4 separate regions of the Homo sapiens genome follow, and regions 1, 2 and 4 are each linked to region 3. Evidence: promoter capture Hi-C in 16 types of primary human blood cells and fetal thymus (Javierre and others, 2016). All regions are on one chromosome and are shown on one strand. The core of a region is centred on a gene start or on the middle of the fragment in contact, and the rest is flanking DNA. Distances in the headings are between cores, read along the strand shown. Region 1 has its middle 21 kb from the start of ZNF273. Region 2 overlaps ZNF273 (zinc finger protein 273). Region 3 holds the start of ZNF92 (zinc finger protein 92). Region 4 has its middle 4.9 kb from the start of ZNF273.

Evidence for each region. The method cuts DNA at HindIII sites, captures the fragments that hold promoters and counts their contacts. A CHiCAGO score of 5 or more calls a contact.
Region 1: a fragment that was not itself captured here is called in contact with the fragment with the promoter of ZNF92 in region 3 in 2 of 17 cell types (neutrophils and total CD4 T cells); the score reaches 6.7 in neutrophils.
Region 2: a contact is called between a fragment that was not itself captured here and the fragment with the promoter of ZNF92 in region 3, in 2 of 17 cell types (M2 macrophages and M1 macrophages). The highest score is 6.4, in M2 macrophages.
Region 4: a fragment that was not itself captured here is called in contact with the fragment with the promoter of ZNF92 in region 3 in 4 of 17 cell types (M0 macrophages, neutrophils, monocytes and 1 more); the score reaches 6.7 in M0 macrophages.

Annotation. Positions count from the first base shown.
Region 1 is chr7:64,880,266-64,884,529 of GRCh38, reverse strand. It overlaps a transcript of ZNF273 not described here. Among named protein-coding and RNA genes, the nearest start is that of ZNF273, 21 kb to the left of the region's middle. The HindIII fragment of the contact is 7,133 bases long and covers 1-4,264 here.
Region 2 is chr7:64,929,416-64,933,817 of GRCh38, reverse strand. It overlaps ZNF273 (zinc finger protein 273), which reads right to left. Exons shown (of 4, transcript NM_021148.3): 4 at 2,837-4,402. It also overlaps the pseudogene VN1R42P. Among named protein-coding and RNA genes, the nearest start is that of ZNF273, 28 kb to the right of the region's middle. The HindIII fragment of the contact is 4,652 bases long and covers 276-4,402 here.
Region 3 is chr7:65,371,489-65,375,816 of GRCh38, reverse strand. ZNF92 (zinc finger protein 92) reads right to left here and starts at 1,962. Exons shown (of 4, transcript NM_152626.4): 1 at 1,817-1,962. The coding sequence starts at 1,819. RefSeq lists an enhancer at 1,532-1,931 and a silencer at 1,827-2,097. The HindIII fragment of the contact is 7,156 bases long and covers 368-4,328 here.
Region 4 is chr7:64,896,296-64,900,420 of GRCh38, reverse strand. It overlaps a transcript of ZNF273 not described here. Among named protein-coding and RNA genes, the nearest start is that of ZNF273, 4.9 kb to the left of the region's middle. The HindIII fragment of the contact is 4,529 bases long and covers 1-4,125 here.

The DNA of each region.
Region 1 (4,264 bases), core at 1,100-3,599, 490 kb after region 3:
GCAAGTCCAAGACGGAGAAGAGGTCTCACACCTGGAACTGGCATCCAACAAGGACACATAAGGTTGAGAGAGAGTTTCAGAAACCGTCTGGGGTGATTGCAAGACTGAAACGGGTGCCCAGGAGTGCTGTTGAGGGGCACTGTGGATCCCCCATGAAAGCAAAGGGAAATAAAGGCTCAAATGGGAGAATGAGAGGGTTTGTGCTGGAGTCAAACCCATGTTCATGGATTCTTGCCAGAAACCCAAGAGACTCCTGTAAAGTGCAAAAAATCCGGCCCCCCAAAATGAGACGACTACCCACAACCTGGAGTGCAGCCAAACTACTGAAAAACCCTTGAGATCCCTAAAATCCCTGGCAAGCAAAAGATCTGTGGTGAGAGGCACTCACATACAGCAACAGCCCAAAGACCAACGAAATCCACAATGAGAAAAGACGTGCAGATGAAATGAAAAAGAGCCTAGAATATTAGGCAAAAGCCAGACTTGGCAGCCTAGGTCCCATCATATAGGAATCATGCTGCAATCCTATAGAAGTGGGAGAACAAGAGTTTCGTTGTTGGCGGATGTAACAGGAATTTACTGTTCCAAAAGTATCACAGCTGCCTAGTCCGCAAAACGTGACAGTGTTTAGACGGAAACACTCATACAATGGTCCCCATGAGGGTCGTCCTCTGTGAACAAGGAAAGGTTTACTGTAGAAGCCTTTGAGCCAGACCAAGGAAACTCTAGGCCCACGAGAAAAATGGAAGTCAGGAAAAGAGGAGGCCGGGGTGCAGGACACATCACGCCCAGCCTCAGTCCATTCAAACTTCATGTGGCTCCGGGAATGACAGCCGAAATTGGGAGATGGCCAGAATGGTCAGGGTTTGCTCCAACTATTCCCCGGCACGTTGGAGTCCTCCCACCTGGGCACCGGGCCATGGTGTGGACGGCTTGTGCGACGAAGTGAATGCGGGGGTGAAGTGGGAAGCACCTTCTGTATCATCTGTCCGCACCTGTTTAGCAGATGAAGGTGCGGGACCCCATCCACACCTCACCAGATTGCATCCTTACCCCTATCTGACCTACTTGCTGCTCACACTATCCATTACCGGAATGAAATCCCGAGACGATGGAGGAGTGCCCGCCTCACGACGTGAAGCGCCTGCTCGGCTGGGAACCGAATTCGAGGTGGATTCAAGGAGCCCTGCGCACAGGACTGCTAGGGTCTGGCCCTGGGTTGGCCACCGGAAAAGGAGGCGCTCGGAGGTTTCTCTTCTTGGGTGTGGTGTGCTCCTCTTCTTTCTAGACCAGTTGCTGCTTGGTGAGGGGGGGGTGGTGATTTGGGCTCCTGCGCGTCTCAGCCAGCCCCCCAATTCACCGCGGATTCAGGAACCACGGAAAAAATACAGGACGCGGAGCCCCGCAGCCCAAGCAGAGCCGCACAGAGGCGTACCAGAAGGTCGGGCCACTCGGAAAAAAAAGAAAAAGCGCTGCAGTGCTTGAGCCATATTCCTTTCAGCGGACGCCGCCTTCACGCACACAGACACACACAGAAACACACACACGCGCACACACAGACAGCCGCATACACACTCGGGCAGCCAACACTCGCAACACTCCCGCAGAAACACACAGCCCGGCAGCTTCTGAGGCAGCGCGGTTCTGCTCCGCCGGGAAGCCCCTCCCGGGAGAGGGCAGCCCCGGGGAACACAGGCCTGCTGTAGTCAGAAATCACAGGGGGGCAACGTTTAAGGAGACTCACCCCACTCCGTCTAGGCAGGCCTGACGCCTCCTGCGGATCCTTTTGGATTCTTAGGGATTTCGCGGTGTATCCCTGGGCCTTCCCTTGACGTTTCCTCAGGCTGGCTCGCCCCTGCCCTGTCCTAGATCGTGGGAGTATCCCGAGGATCCCCCCAGAGAAGACAGGCGAGAGCCCAACGCCGACGCCCCCTCTCCGCTAAGCCGCAGGGACTAGTCGCCAGGCAACGAAGGCGTTCACTGTGAAGCAAGCCAGTGCTCGCCGCTGGCGCCTTGTGCCCCGCCACTGGCACATGCGCATTCGTGAGGCTGCCTCGGGCGCCAGGCTGTCGGGGCTGTCAGCCCGCCTAAGCAAGGACAATGGTGCAGGCAGAGACGGCCTGGTCAGGAAAAGGGCTGCCTGCGACTACCATTGCGGGACTATAAAAGTCTCGACCACAGGGCCTCCTGGGGCGTCTCCGTGGTCGGCTCCCCCTGGAGGAGGAGGCGATTGGAGACCGTGAGGTGGGCGCTGAAAGCTGCTCTTGGGACTCCCTTCCCGAAAAAGGCTGTGTGCAGGAATCGGGTCCCAGGGGGTTGGGAATGCAGTCTGGTGAGTTGTTGAGGGGTCTCCGGGTGATGGATTCATACCTGCGACCCCAGAGGAGGGTGTCAGCGGAAGATTGCGGGGCCCTTGAGCTCACGGCCTCCCTTCATCCCGGGCCGTTTAGGGGCTCCCCCTTCTCAGCACCCACGGGCAATCTGGGAGAAGCAGGAACCACGACAAAGGAAAGGACACGGTGGAGAAGAGGTCTCACCCCTGGAACTGGCATCCCACGGGGGCACGTGAGGATCAGAGAGTGTCTCAGAGTCCGTCTACAGCGATTGCAAGACTGAAATGGGTGTCCACGAGTGCTGCTGAGGGGCACTGTGGATCCCCCGTGAAAGCACAAGAAAATCAAGACTCGCCTGGCAGAACTAGAGGGTTTGGGCTGGAGTCCAAGTCAAGCTCACGGATCCTTGCCAGAGGACCCAAGAGCCTCCCGCAGAGTTCAAACAACCCCAGCCCCCACAAAGAGACCACGACCCATGACCTGGAGTGAAGTCAGCCTACTCCAAGTCCCTTGTGCCCCCTGAAGTCCCTGGCAGCCAAGATCTGGGGTGAGAGGAAGTCCCACCCAGCAACAGCCCCCCCACAAGGACAGTGGATGTGCAGATGAAATGAAACAGAGCCTAGATTACCCGGCAAAAGCCAGACACTGTTGCCTGCTTCTCATCCTACAGGAATCATGCAGCCCTCTGATAGAAGTGGGAAAACCAGAGCTTCCTTGTTGGCGGATGTAACGGGAATTTACCCTTCCAAAAGTATCACAGCAGCCTAGTGCTTAAACCGTGACAGTGTTTAGAAGGAAACACTCATTCAATTGTCCCCATGAGGGTCGTCCTCCGTGGACAGGGAATCGTTTCCTGTGGAAGCCTTTGAGCCAGACCCAGGAAACCCTAGGCCCACGAGAAACATGGAAGTCAGGAAAAGAGGAGGCTGGTGTGCCGGCCACATCCCACCCAGCCTCAGTCCATCCCACTCCCCTGTGGCTCCCGGAATGACTGCGGAAATCGGGAGCTGGCCAGAATGGCCTGGGTTTGCACTCCAACTGTTCCCTGGCAGGTTGGAATCCTCCCAGCTGGGCACTGGGCTATGGTTTGGACGGCCTGTGGACGAAGGGAATGCGGGGGTGGATTTGGAAGCACCTTCTGTATCATCTGTCCGCACCTGTTTAGCAGATGAAGGTGCGGGACCCCATCCACACCTCACCAGATTGCATCCTCACCCCATCTGACCTAACTGCAGCTCACACTCTCCGTCCCCGGAATGAAATCCCGAGACGATGGAGGAGTGCCCGCCTCACGACGTGAAGTGCCTGCTCGATTGAGAACCAAAATCGAGGCGGATTCAAGGAGTCCTGGGCACAGGACTGCTGGGGTCTGGCCCTGGGTTGGCCACAGGAAAAGGAGGCACTCGGGGGTTTCTGTTCTTGGGTGTAGTGTGCTCCTCTGCTTTCTAGAAGAGTTGCTGCTTTGCATGGGGATATAATTTGGGGCCCGTCGCATCTCAGCTAGCCCGCCAATTTATAGCGGATTCAGTAACCACAGAAAAAGTAAAGGACACGGAGCCCCGCAGCCCAAGCCCTTTCGCACAGAGAGGCTTCCAGAAGGTGGGGCGACTCGAAAAAAAAAGGGCTGCAGTGCTTCAGCCATATTCCTTTCAGTTGACGCCACATACAGGCACACAGACACACACACACACAGCCGCCATCACACGCGGGCAGCCAACACTCCCAACACTCCCGCAGAAACACCCAGCCCGGCAGTTTCTGAGGCAGCGCGGTTCTGCTTCGCCAGGAAGCCCCTCCTGGGGAGGGCAGCCCCAGGGAATACAAGAGTGCTGTAGTCAGAAATCATAGAAGTGCAACTTTCAAGGAGACTCACCCCCACTCCGTCTAGGCATGCCTGAAGCATCCTGCCGATCTTTTTGGATTCTTAGGGA
Region 2 (4,402 bases), core at 1,352-3,851, 440 kb after region 3:
TTGTATATATACTTCAAAACATCATGTTTTACAGAAAAAAATGCATTTTATGTCACATCAAAAAATTCATTTTTAAAACATTATAGAAAGATAATAATGTTTCAAATACTGTGTCTGTTTCATAAACTTGGCTGAATAGTATCAAAAATACTTAGTTCTTGTGTGGCTTTTGTCATCTGTCATAATCACAGAAACTCTGATATTTAACAGCATGTTCTGGACCCAGTACAGTCTGTGGGAAAAGCCAATGTACTTTAGGGTTTTTACTTTAAGCTTGGGGTACCTGGAGTTTCTGGTACAGATGGTAATGGTATGAAAGACACTAAAAGGGCAGGTGTTGCTTATGGTCCCATGACACCATTCTGTGAAGGCAGAACACAAATTTGCATGCAAAAAAATAGAAAACGTTTTAATCCAAAAGTTGCCCTGATCTCCAAAAGTTTTCCAGAGAAAATGACCAAGGAGTTGGCTACAGATAGGTGACTAAGAATAAAAGCTGTAGACTGAACTTCACCAACCAAAAAAATATATATTAAGAAAAGTGAGACCGGGCGCAGTGGTTCACGCCTGTAATCCCAACACTTCAGGAGGCTGAGGTGGGTGGATCATCTGAGGTCAGGAGTTCGAGACCAGCCTGGCCAACATGGCAAAACGCTGTCTCTACTAAAAAGTACAAAAATTAGCCAGGCGTGGTGGCAGGTGCCTGTAATCCTAGCTACTCAGGAGGCTGAGGCAGGAGAACAGCTTGAACCTGGGAGGCGAAGGTTGCAGTGAGCCGAGATGGCGCCACTGCACTCCAGCTTGGGTGACAAGAGTGAGACTGCATCTAAAAAAGGAATTCCTCCAAATTGTAATATTAATAGGGAAAAGAAATACTATTCCAAATTTCAAGTCAACAGAAGTCATTTTATTATTTTGCAATGTTTTACAGTCACACTTAAAAATAGATTCTGTGTGAAAACGTTACTCCCGCGTTCAAATGATTCTCCTGCCTCAGCCTTCAAAGTAGCTGGGACTACAGATGCACACGACCACAGCTGGCTAATTTTTGTATTTTTAGTAAAGACAGGGTTTCACCATGTTGGCCGGGCTGGTTTCGCACTCCTGGCCTTAAGTAATCCACCCAGCTCAGGCTCCCAAAGTGCTAGGATTACAGGCATGAGCCACCGTGCCGAGTCAGATTTACCATTAGCTCTCTTAAAAATTTAATTTCTGGCCGGGCGCAGTGGCTCGCGCCTGTAATCCCAGCACTCTGGGAGGCGGAGGTGGGCGGATCACCTAAGGTCAGGAGTTCACGACCAGCCTCACCAACATGGAGAAACCCTGTCTACTAAAAATACAAAATTAGCCAGGCGTGGTGGCACATGCCTGTAATCTAAGTTACTAGGGAGGCTGTGACAGGAGAATCAAACCCAGGAGGTGGAGGTTGTGGTGAGCCAAGATCGCGCCATTGCACTCCAGCCTGGGCAACAAGAGTGAAACCTCATCTCTAAATAAATAAATAAATAAATAAATTTCTAACATATTTTCTAGCAAATTTTATATTTGCCACACTTTGTATAAGAATCTAGTAAGATATTTTTTTTTTTTTTTACAAACAGTTAAAAACAATGCTAAGTGATTTAATCCTCTCACCTGTGGACAGCGTATGCCTTTTATCTTAACAATCTGACAGTTATATTGGTAAGCAAACTCACCAATTAAAACCAATTTTTCAGTGCACTAAAAATATCAAATTTCTCATCAAAACTTACTAAATTACCATGTGAAATGACATGGCATAAAGACAACAGCAAGAAAACTGTAGCCATAACACAGAAAAAGAAGAGCTGTGATGCACACATTGTTGGAATACACATAAGACAAACAAAACTGAATATAATTAGAAAATAACCAGCATTTCTCTTTAAATTCGGCAGAATTCAGCTTCGCAGCCTGGAAAAAAAATGTCCTCTCCACATGAAAAATCAATGTTACTGTTTCACCATTGATATATTCCATTTCTGACTTGAAGTTACAAACTAACTTCAACAGGAATATTTATGTCTTACTATGGAGCATCTGTTATAGATCAAGCACTGTCATGTTTGTCTGCTATGTTTATATAGAACAGCATCCTCATGACTCAGGAAGCCTCCCTAGTACTTACCTGAACAAATTCAATAAATAAATAAATTTACTTATGAAAATTATGAAAAGTGAAAGAAAGAATAACTTTAAAAAAGTCGGCTTACATAGGGTTCTCCAATTAAAAGAACAAAGGGCAATGTTTTAACTAAATAAATAAAATATAACTTAATAGACTAATAGTAAAATTACATCTAAAAATTACTTTTTGTGCACTACTAAATTTTATAAAAAAAATAATTGTTGTAATCCCTGACCAGCTCATATAATACTTCATAAACTGTAAAAGAAATTGTAAGAAAAAAGAAATGTATGGCTCTACCATGAGTACCAGGCAAGTAAAAACAGAACATCTGCATGGGGAGATTCTGAACCATAAGCCATAATATTTTACAGTAATGAATTCAGTACAAAGCAGAGAGAGTATAGATTTGCTTTCAGCATTTTTGAGGTTGTTAGTTTTCTAATAAATTAGTCACCTTATTAAAATGATTTGTTTTGTTCCAATATTGCTGTTTTCTTTTGAAAACAGGTACAAACATACTCACACAAGCACACTTACTCTACAATTTTCTTACACTTAAGATTTATCTTTAAAGTAAAATATATGTATATTTAACTCTATGTAAATCAAAACTGAGTCTTTATATGTTTGCAGGCAAAGAGGCCACATGTTAGAAGAAAAATATATAACAAATTTTTAAAAATATTCAGGACTCAGAAATGTATGTATTTTATTCATACTTTTGTAATTTTTATTATGACCATAAAAATAACCCTGTAGTCCATAACAATTTAGTTGTACATTTTAAAATAAAATACAAAGGATAAATGCTAGTAAGGGATACCTCATTTACCCTGATGTGATTATTACATATTATATACCTGTATCAAAACATGCCATATACAGCATAAAAACATACTATGTACCCATGAAAAATAAGAACAATAAATTTAAATAAGAAAAAATATAAATGTAAAACCTATGGGAATATTTAACTTATCTGCAGTTTAAAGCCACTGGCAAAAGAGATTACTAAAAATGTTAGTCCACTATGTAACCAAATAATATATTGCTATCATCTTTTACCTACACCATTGAGTAAGGTGAGGTAGGTTAGTTTGTGGCATAATAACGCTTCACTGAATGCACAAGTCTTAACATGTTAAAACATGTTTAAAAATCTAAGTTCATACATAATCTAAAAATTTTGAAATGTACTGCATTATGAAAAGCACAATTCATAAAATGATATAATTGAATTTTAATATTAAAAATTTTTCACTATAATGCAGAATATTACTCTGAACACCTACCTCATGCATCACTCAATATTATCAGTTAACCACAAGAGCCTCTCTACTTAGATTTTCATCATGCATCTTTCATTTTAATGTTCTTACTCTTCCACAGAAAAGGTCATAAATAATGCCCACCTAATAAAAAAAAAAATCTCATATCTTTGATGCAGCAAGTTGATCACATGCTTTCACATGTGAATACAATAGGAATGAAGAAAAAACATGCGCCGGGTGCAGTGGCTCATGCCTGTAATCCCAACATTTTGGGAGGCCGAGGCGGGCATATCACCTGAGGTTGGGAGTTTGAGACCAGACTGACCAACATGGAGAAACCCTGTCTCTACTAAAACCACAAAAATTAGCCAGGTGTGGCACATGCCTGTAATCCCAGCTACTAGGGAGGCTGAGGCAGGAGAATTGCTTGAATCTGGGAGGCAGAGGTTGCGGTGAGCTGAGATCACGCCATTGCACTCCAGCCTGGGCAACAAGAGTGAAACTCCGTCTCAAAAACAAACAAACAAACAAACAAAAAACCCAAAACCAAAACCAAAAAAAAAAAAACCATGAATTTGAGAGTTGAATTACATTATTCACTTTTCAAAAAACCTGTAATTTTTTCCAAAGAAAAGTGTACTCTGAATGTAAATATACCTCTGCCAAAAACTTGTTCACTATTAGTTATCTACCAACTTTTGTTTTGGATAACTTTCTGTACTCAGCACTCTGATTTTGTGTAATGTCTGAAGTGTCAGTATCTTAGATATCTGTATTGTGAATTCTCTGATATTTATATAAACCTAACTTTGGATCATTTCTTTCATATTTACTGCTGCATTTGCAAAAATATATTTTAGTGTAATTCCTCCCATGTTTTCTAAGCTGTTGTTGAAAAAAATATTTTTCCAAATTCATTACACTCATAGGGTTTTTCTCCAATATAAATTTCCTGGTATTGAACAAAGTTTGAACAACT
Region 3 (4,328 bases), core at 713-3,212:
GAGTGCAGTGGCATGATCTTGGCTCACTGCAATCTCCCTCTCCCGGGTTCAAGCGATTCCCCTGCCTCAGCCTCCCGAGTAGCTGGGATTACAGGCATGCACCACCATGCCTGGCTAATTTTTTGTATTTTAGTAGAAACCGGCTTTCACCATATTGGCCAGGATGGTCTCGATCTCCAGGTCAGGTTTTGTTGTATCTTTTGGAATACTTTTTTTTTTTCCACAAATCTTAGAGAATCCTGGGGACAGAAATAATTTTGGTGTTTTCCTCCCAGTACCAGCATCTGATTGGCTGACCAGCAATGTTTCTCCAAGAAATGAAAGCTGGGTTGAGTGAAGACAATCTTAATATCTCAAGGGGTAAGCTTTTCAAAGGAAGAGTAGCCCAGGAGATGCTTCTCAGCCCCAGGGCATCCACCTGCTCCCTTGAGAAGCTACATTCCATACTTCAGGTTATTCTACGAGAGAAAATGACCCAGGAGCTGATATTTACTAGACACTCTAGCGACATTGCCATGGTAGGTATCTTGCCCCAGACAGTACTAAAACCCAGGACCAGAAAAAGAACTGAAGGGTGGCTGAGAACACATCACCCCATAAAGTTTCCAAAGGGAAAGCAACCATGACCCAAAAACATTCTGATAAGATCTCTGTGCCTAAGGAAGATAAAAAGAAAAGAGGCACAGAGATTTACAATACAATGTTAGGGGATTATTCTTTGCTTTCTTCTCATAGGAAATATTTACAAACAGGAAACAAATCTTTTAAAACGTGCCATCCAATGCTTTGCCAAAAATGATTAATTAAAATATGCCATCGAAAATGTACACTAAAGGAAACACACTTGCTAATGCGAATTAGGGAGGGTAAGTTGGCATTTGGGAATGTCAGAAGGAACTGGAAATTTAGTATTTTACTGCAAGCCAGAATTAAGCTGGAGGAATGAGGGATGGGGGGTAGACTTGAGACCCTGCTTGGGACACATGTGAAAACTGCAGGGGAAAATCAGTCCCCTGTGGATGTGAAAATAATTAAGTGGCAGGCAATTAGATTGAGGTGGCTCTAGTCCCTGGGTTCCTACTTTAAAAAAAATATAATTCAAATGCATTTTTGGCGGGGGGAGGGGAGGGTAAATAACACCGAGGGAACAAAATTCAGGCTTAACCAACTATAAACTGACAATCTCTGATTACATGACCAGGAAATTTCTACCTTAATCATACAAATTAAAAAACGACGTAACTGTACCTAACCAATTATTAAACTTGTTTTTTTTCATTATGCATCTTATAAAAGTGTTTCCTTCAAGCCCCTCCCACGGACCACAAACTACAAATCATAGCTGGGTGCTCTAAAATTCCTGAATCGCTCTTTGATTAAATTCTTCAATATTTTTACCTTGACTCCCATAAATTTTTAATAGGAAAAAAGAGGACCTGAGAACCACACGGACCAAAGCTCTTCCCATTCATAAACCCCGCACCCCGAGTCAGGATTCTTCTCTTTACTATTCTCCCGTCGTCCCTGCACACTCGGCGAGAGATGCGACGCTGCGGGTGCAGAGCTGCCCAGGGAGGGCTCCAGGCCAAAGCACAGTCACTGCGCAGGGAGGAGACAGGACGCCCGGGGTCCCGGCTGTCAGCCCAGCCGCCATCTTATGGCTGAAGGAGACTGAGGGCCGAGCTGCGCCAAGGAGAACTCGGGCCGCGGATCTCGGAGCCGACTGCGGGAAGGCCCGAGGCCCGCCACAGCCACTTCCAATCGGTTCCAGCCAGACCCTCCCCCTCTCTCGGGATGTGGGACCCAGCAGGCTCACCATTTCTAGGCTTCCAGGGGGTCCTGGCGTCTTAGCTGTGAACCTCCAAGTTCTTGCAGGTAACAGGGTCACAGCGGCGAGCCTTTATCAGCACAGGACGCAGAGCAGTGAAGACTAGACGTGGAGCGCCGGCTGCAGCGAGAGACAAAGGCCCCGCCAAATCCCGGAAGCTGTGCTGTCCGCTCCAGTTGCGTGCCTGATTGGATGGTTCCCAGCCCAGCGTTCCTGATTGGATAACGTTTAAGGCCCCGCCCCTTCGGGCCCTGAGTGACGGGAGATGTGATCAGATGCTGGACTGAAGGAAGAGTGACAGCCTAAGCTGCAGCCTTTTCAGACGGGGCTTCCTCCCTGAGCTGAGTCAGGCCCACCCCAGACAGTATTTGCATTTAACCTTGTGAATAAGGCCATATGCATTTATAAATAGTATATTATATGTCTATTCACAAATGCAAAGAATATAATACCAATTATTCAAAATTTTCAGATTTTATGACCTTCCTGGCTTCTGGTTTTGTTGTTTTGTTTTGTTTTTGGTTTTTGTTTTTTGAGACAGAGTCTAGCTCTGTCGCCAGGCTGGAGTGCAGTGGCACGAGCTCAACTCGCTGCAACCTCCGCCTCCCAGGTTCAAGCGATTCTCCTGTCTCAGCCTCCCGAGGAACTGGGACTACAGGCGCACGCCACCACACCCAGCTAATTTTTGTATTTTTAGTAGAGACGGGGTTTCACCATGTTGGCCAGGATGGTCTTGATCTCTTGATCTTGTGATCCGCCCGCCTCGGTCTCCCAAAGTGCTGGGATTACAGGTGTGAGCCACAGAGCCCGGCCAACTTCTGTTTTTTTAAGCAGGCAGCCTGAAATTTTAAAAAGAAGGCAATCCTCTAAAATAAAATGTGGGCGACACGTGAATTGTACATTTTTTAGCAGCCAAACTTTAAAAAGAAACAAGAAACAGGTGAAATTGATTGTAACAATTTAACCCAATATATCTAAAACCTTATTCTAATATGTGAGTGATATGTAATTATTAATAAAGTATATATATTTATTTGGAACTGAATCTTTGAAATTAACTCTATTTTACCTTTCTAGCACATTGCAATTCAGACCAGCCACATTCCAGGCAGCCAGTAGCTACACATGGCCAATAGCTGCCACATTGAAATGCAGCCCTGACATCAGGAGGGTGAAGGGTCTGAACACCCCTTTTCTGCCAGAAGTGAGGGGACAGCCTCTCTTTACCAACATCTTTCTACAGTTTTGAGGGTGGAACAAGATAGTCACCATAGAAAGAGCAGAGGGCAGCAAGAATAAAATAACCACAGGTACACCACTGCTGGCCACCTGTTGCCCACCTTTCTTCCAGAGATCAGACAGTAACCAAAAGATGATGGGGCCACAGGAGATTAAACGCTATGTCTTCAGATCTCTCCACAGTCATCACTTCCAGTGTTTAAGTATAGAGAAAACAGATTAAAGGTAAACTTATTTTGCTATTTGGCCTGGCCCTAGTGGCCAGAGTGTGTTTATCTGTTTTCTCCTGTGGCGTGGGGATTGTGTGAGTACAAGTACCAATCCCATGCAAACATGCCTACATATTTTTCTGCATTACTCAATATTATCTTACAAAACATCCAACTTTAGAGCAGAAAAAAAAATCAGCACTTTTAGGGTGCCAACTGTTGGAAGGTAACTATAACAACCAGTAATCAACCTGTCATTAAATCCTGGCATCCTATCTGCACTGTGTGCACGTATTAGTTAGGTATTGCAGCATAACAAACCAACCAAGGCTTTTTTTTTTTTTTAAATACAGAGTTTCGCTCTTGTTGCCCAAACTAGAGTGCAATGGCACGATCTCAGCTCACCGCAACCTCCGCCTCCTGGGTTCAAGTGATTCTCCTGCCTCAGCCTCCTGAGTAGCTGAGATTACAGGTATGCGCCACCACGCCTGGCTAATTTTGTATTTTTAGTAGAGATGGGGTTTCTCCTTGTTGGTCAGGCTGGTCTCAAACTGCTGACCTCAGGTAATCCGCCCACCCCGGCCTCCCAAAGTGCTGGGATTACAGGCGTGAGCCACTGCGCCCAACCCAGCTAAGGCTTCTTAGCTCACAATTGAGATGGTCAGTCATTTAAGCTGGGCTCAGTGGAGCAATTCTTCTGATCTCAGCTGAGCTCCTTCAGACATGTGTTATCAGCTGCTTGTTAACTAGGCAGCTGTGCTTCTGGATGTGCGCTTCTGGAGCTGTCAACAGGGACACCTTGCTTCTCCTCCCCATGGTATGTCATCCTCCAGCTGCCTAGCATGGGCTTTTTTTCACAGAGATGGCAGCATTGTGAAAGAAAAACAGAAGCATTCAAGACTGCTAAGCCCCAAACTGGCACGCTATCATGGTCACATGTTTTTACTGCCTTGAGCAAACAAGGCCAGCCAGATCTAGGTTTCGGAAAACAGATTCTGGATCTCAATGGGAACAGCTGTAAAAATCCCTGGCAACGGGCGTGGACATAGAAG
Region 4 (4,125 bases), core at 915-3,414, 480 kb after region 3:
CAATTTCTTTCTATCTCCTGTACCACTTGCATTTTGGGAGTTCAAGGTGGATGGATCACTTGAGCCCAGGAGTTTGAAACCAGCCTGGGCAACATGACAAAACACCATCTCTACTAAAAGTACAAAAATTGCCCGGCATGGTGGCACAAGGCTGTATTCCCAGCTACTCAGGAGTCTGAGGTGGGAGGATTACTTCAGCCTTGAAAATGGAGGTGGCAGTGAGCCGAGATTACACAACTGCACTCCAGCCTGGGTGACAGAGCGAGACTTGGTCTCAAAACAAACAAACAAAAAAAAAAAAAGAGAGAGAAAAGAAAAAGCATAAAGCATACCTAATCATTTGTTATCACAGTTAAATCCCTTGAAACCAGGCAGGGTGTGGTGGCTCATCCCAGCACTTTGGGAGGCCGAGGCAGGCGGATCCCATGAGGTTGGGAGTTCGAGACCAGCCTGACCAACATGGAGAAACCCCGTCTCTACTAAAAATACAAAATTAGCCAGGCTTGGTGGCGCATGCCTGTAATCCCAGCTACTTAGGAGGCTGAGGCAGGAGAATCACTTGAAACCGGGAGGCAGAGGTTGCTGTGAGCCAAGATCACGCCATTGCACTCCAGCCCGGGCAACAAGAGCAAAACTCTGTCTCAAAAAAAAAAAAAAAACCTTGAAATTACAATGAACTTCTGCTAATTTTAGAGAATTCTGCTATACTGTACTACAATACTGAACTTTAAACAACTTAATAGAAATATTTTTTCTTTTTTTTTTTTGAGATGGAGTCTCATTTTATCTCCATCTGGAGTGCAGTGGCAAGATCTTGGCTCTACTTCAACATTTGTCTCCCAGTTTCAAGTGATTCTCTTGCCTCAGCCTTCCAAATAGCTGGGATTACAGGTATACACCACCACACCTGGCTAATTCTTGTGTTTTTAGTAGAAATGGGGTTTCACCATGTTGGCAAGGCCGGTCTGGGACTCCTGACCTCAAGTGATCCACTCACCTTGGCCTCCCAAAATGTCGGGATTACAGGCGTGAGCCACTGCGCCTGGCATAATATTTCCTGAAGGCATAAATAGTTATGTAGATAGTTTCTCTTAGATTAACATGATAAAAGTAACAAAGACAACATTTTAAATGGGATAAAATTAACCAAAATCACATTTTTTTTCAATGGCTTGGCATAATTGCCATGTTTTCTGAAATGACAGATTACTAACAAGAAGCAAAGACAAGATTTTTGCTTTGCTCAATTGTTAAGTTTTGGACCTTTTGAAATTTAAAATTCTGGCTAAACAATTTGAAGGGAGAATTCTTTAGGTGGCTTCCTAGGGTTTCCAAGGCAATACAAGAATTTTCATAGGCAGGAAAATGCATGTTATATACACATATTGTTCTTCTCTGCTTTGCTTTCATGTTTAAAAATTGAAAATTGCAAATCTAGTCTCTCAATTTAGAGTAAGTTAACAAAAGATTTATTTTTCAGCAAAGCAAATAATTGTAGAAAACTTATGGGGAACAAATGCCATTAGCTGCCAAAAACAGTATGACCGGATTCAGTAAGTATCTAGCCATGCAAATGACAGCCCAGTTAAATTAAGACCCCAAAGGTGCATGTGGACAGCATTTCCATGCAATGTGGTGCACCTCCACTGGGCACCTTCTTCTGCCTGCTTACAGAGATACCAATTTCCCCTAAGTGACTCAATGTGAATACTGGAAACTGAGAATGCTGTGTTCAGAGGGATTACTAGGAACATGGTTAACACACTTACCATATTATAATAAAATTTGATGTATCCTACTCTACCTCACAAAGGCTTTTAGTAAAAGATTGTTTATTTATAGTACTCAATATGGATTTATGAAAAATTATAATATATTCCAGGAAAGTCAGAGACACTTAAATGTCAACCAAATTCCATAAAACACACTTGAATGAGACAAAGTCTTCTTAGCTAAAAATGTTATCAGTAAATTTAGGATAAAATAGAAAACCAGTTCTTTGTGTTAAATGAACAGCGTTTGGCACGCGAGTACTACTCAAACGAAGAACACTCAAACGAGTGTTCTTCACTGTCATCATTAAAATGGCAATAACAACACGTGCTTTCCTGGCACCAGCTGGCTTGCTTTCCATTGGTGTTAAGTGAAGAAGGTGTTGAAATAGAGAAGAAAGGTGATATAAATTGAATACTTATATAAAATACTATTTTTAATAAAAAGTAGCATTTGATGTACAACTACAGGTAAGACTTGTATGAAGTAATAATGTTATTCTATTGACAGAATAACTTTATTCACAATATTCTTATTTCAAACAATATCCCTTTTTTGGCTAAATATATGCCAGCCTTTTGGTGAAATATTACCTGAGCTCAAGAGAAATCAGCAAAATGAGGCCGGGTGCGGTGGCTCACGCCTGTAATACCAGCACTTTGGGAGGCCGAGGCGGGAGGATTACGAGGTCAGGAGATCGAGACCATCCTGGCTAACACGGTGAAACCCTGTCTCTACTAAAAAATACAAAAAATTAGCCGGGCGTGGTGGCAGGCGCCTGTAGTCCCAGCTACTCGGGAGGCTGAGACGGGAGACTGAGACGGGAGACTGGCGTGAACCCAGGAGGCAGAGCTTGCAGTGAGCAGAGACCGTGCCACTGCACTCCAGACTGGGCGACAGAGCAAGACTCCGTCTCAGAAAAAAAAAAAAAAAAAGAAATCAACAAAATGAACCTTTATTTTACCAGAAGCATTTTACTATTGATGCGTATGCTTATTTTGCTTAAAACACATCAGCTTTTTGGCTGGGCACGGTGGCTCATGCCTGTAATCCCAGCACTTTGGGAGGCCGAGGCGGGTGGATCACGAGCTCAGGAGATCGAGACCATGCTGGCCAGCACAGTGAAACCCCGTCTCTACTAAAAATACAAAAAATTAGCTGGGTGTGGTGGCGGGCGCCTGTAGTCCCAGCTACTCGGGAGGCTGAGGCAGGAGAATGGCGTGAAACTGGGAGGCAGAGCTTGAAGTGAGCTGAGATTGCGCCACTGCACTCCAGTCTGGGCGACAGAGCAAGATTCCGTCTGAAAACAAACAAACAAACAAAAACATTAGCTTTTTATGAGAGACACACTTTTCTTTCAGTGATTTCTATACTGCTGAGAAGTGGTTGTTCTACCAGGAAACTGCTATTCTCAGCTCTACCAACATTAAGTTTTGACTCCTCAGCATATAATTCCATTCCCTGGTGAATCAAAACTGAGAGAAGAATAAATTACATGTTAAGGTAAGAGACATAGGGAAGACCCATTACTTTTGACCCACATCTCCTCCACCCCCAGCCCCAGGCAATCATCATTCTACTCTCTGCTTCTATAGTTTTTGTGCTGACTTATTTTACTTAGCATAATGTCCTCCAGGTTCATTGATGTTGTTGCAAATAACAAGAGTTGCTTCTTTTGAAGGGCTGAATAGCATTCCATTGTGTAAATATACCACATTTTCTATATTTATTCACCTGTTAATTAACACTTAGTTTGATTCCATACCTTAGGAGTAATTGTGAGGAATCCACTTCCCCTTTTTTTCATTTGCTTTTACCTCTTTTTATTTTTATTTCTAGAAGCATTTTAATTTAATACTATAACTTATGATTGTTACATAGATCATCTGAGCTTGATTTGGGTCATGAGCTATGAGCCCAGATTTACATCCTTGGAGCTGCGATCTGCATTATTAATAAAAGATACTATTTTTCCAAGGGCTGTTTTAATTTATACATAGTAGCTATAAGCATTTTTCACTGAAAAGCTCTTCTAAATATATTATAGTAAATATTTAAGAATAAGAATAAAATCATTTATATTTCAAAGATTTTCTTATACTTGACTGGGTATATTTTGTCATATTTAATGTATTTATTCTTTCTGAAAAATGCCAAAATAAGAATTTTATTATTTTTCCTGGAATAACAGACTGGGTTTCTGTATTGTGTCTTTGCTAATTTTTGCATATAGATTTGACTGCTACCATTGAATTTAGGTTGAGTTTTAAAGCCACTGTTTTTTAGTTTGTGTGGTTTTTGGTTCATTTGCGGAACCAAATATATTTCATTTGCGGAACCAAATATATTAGA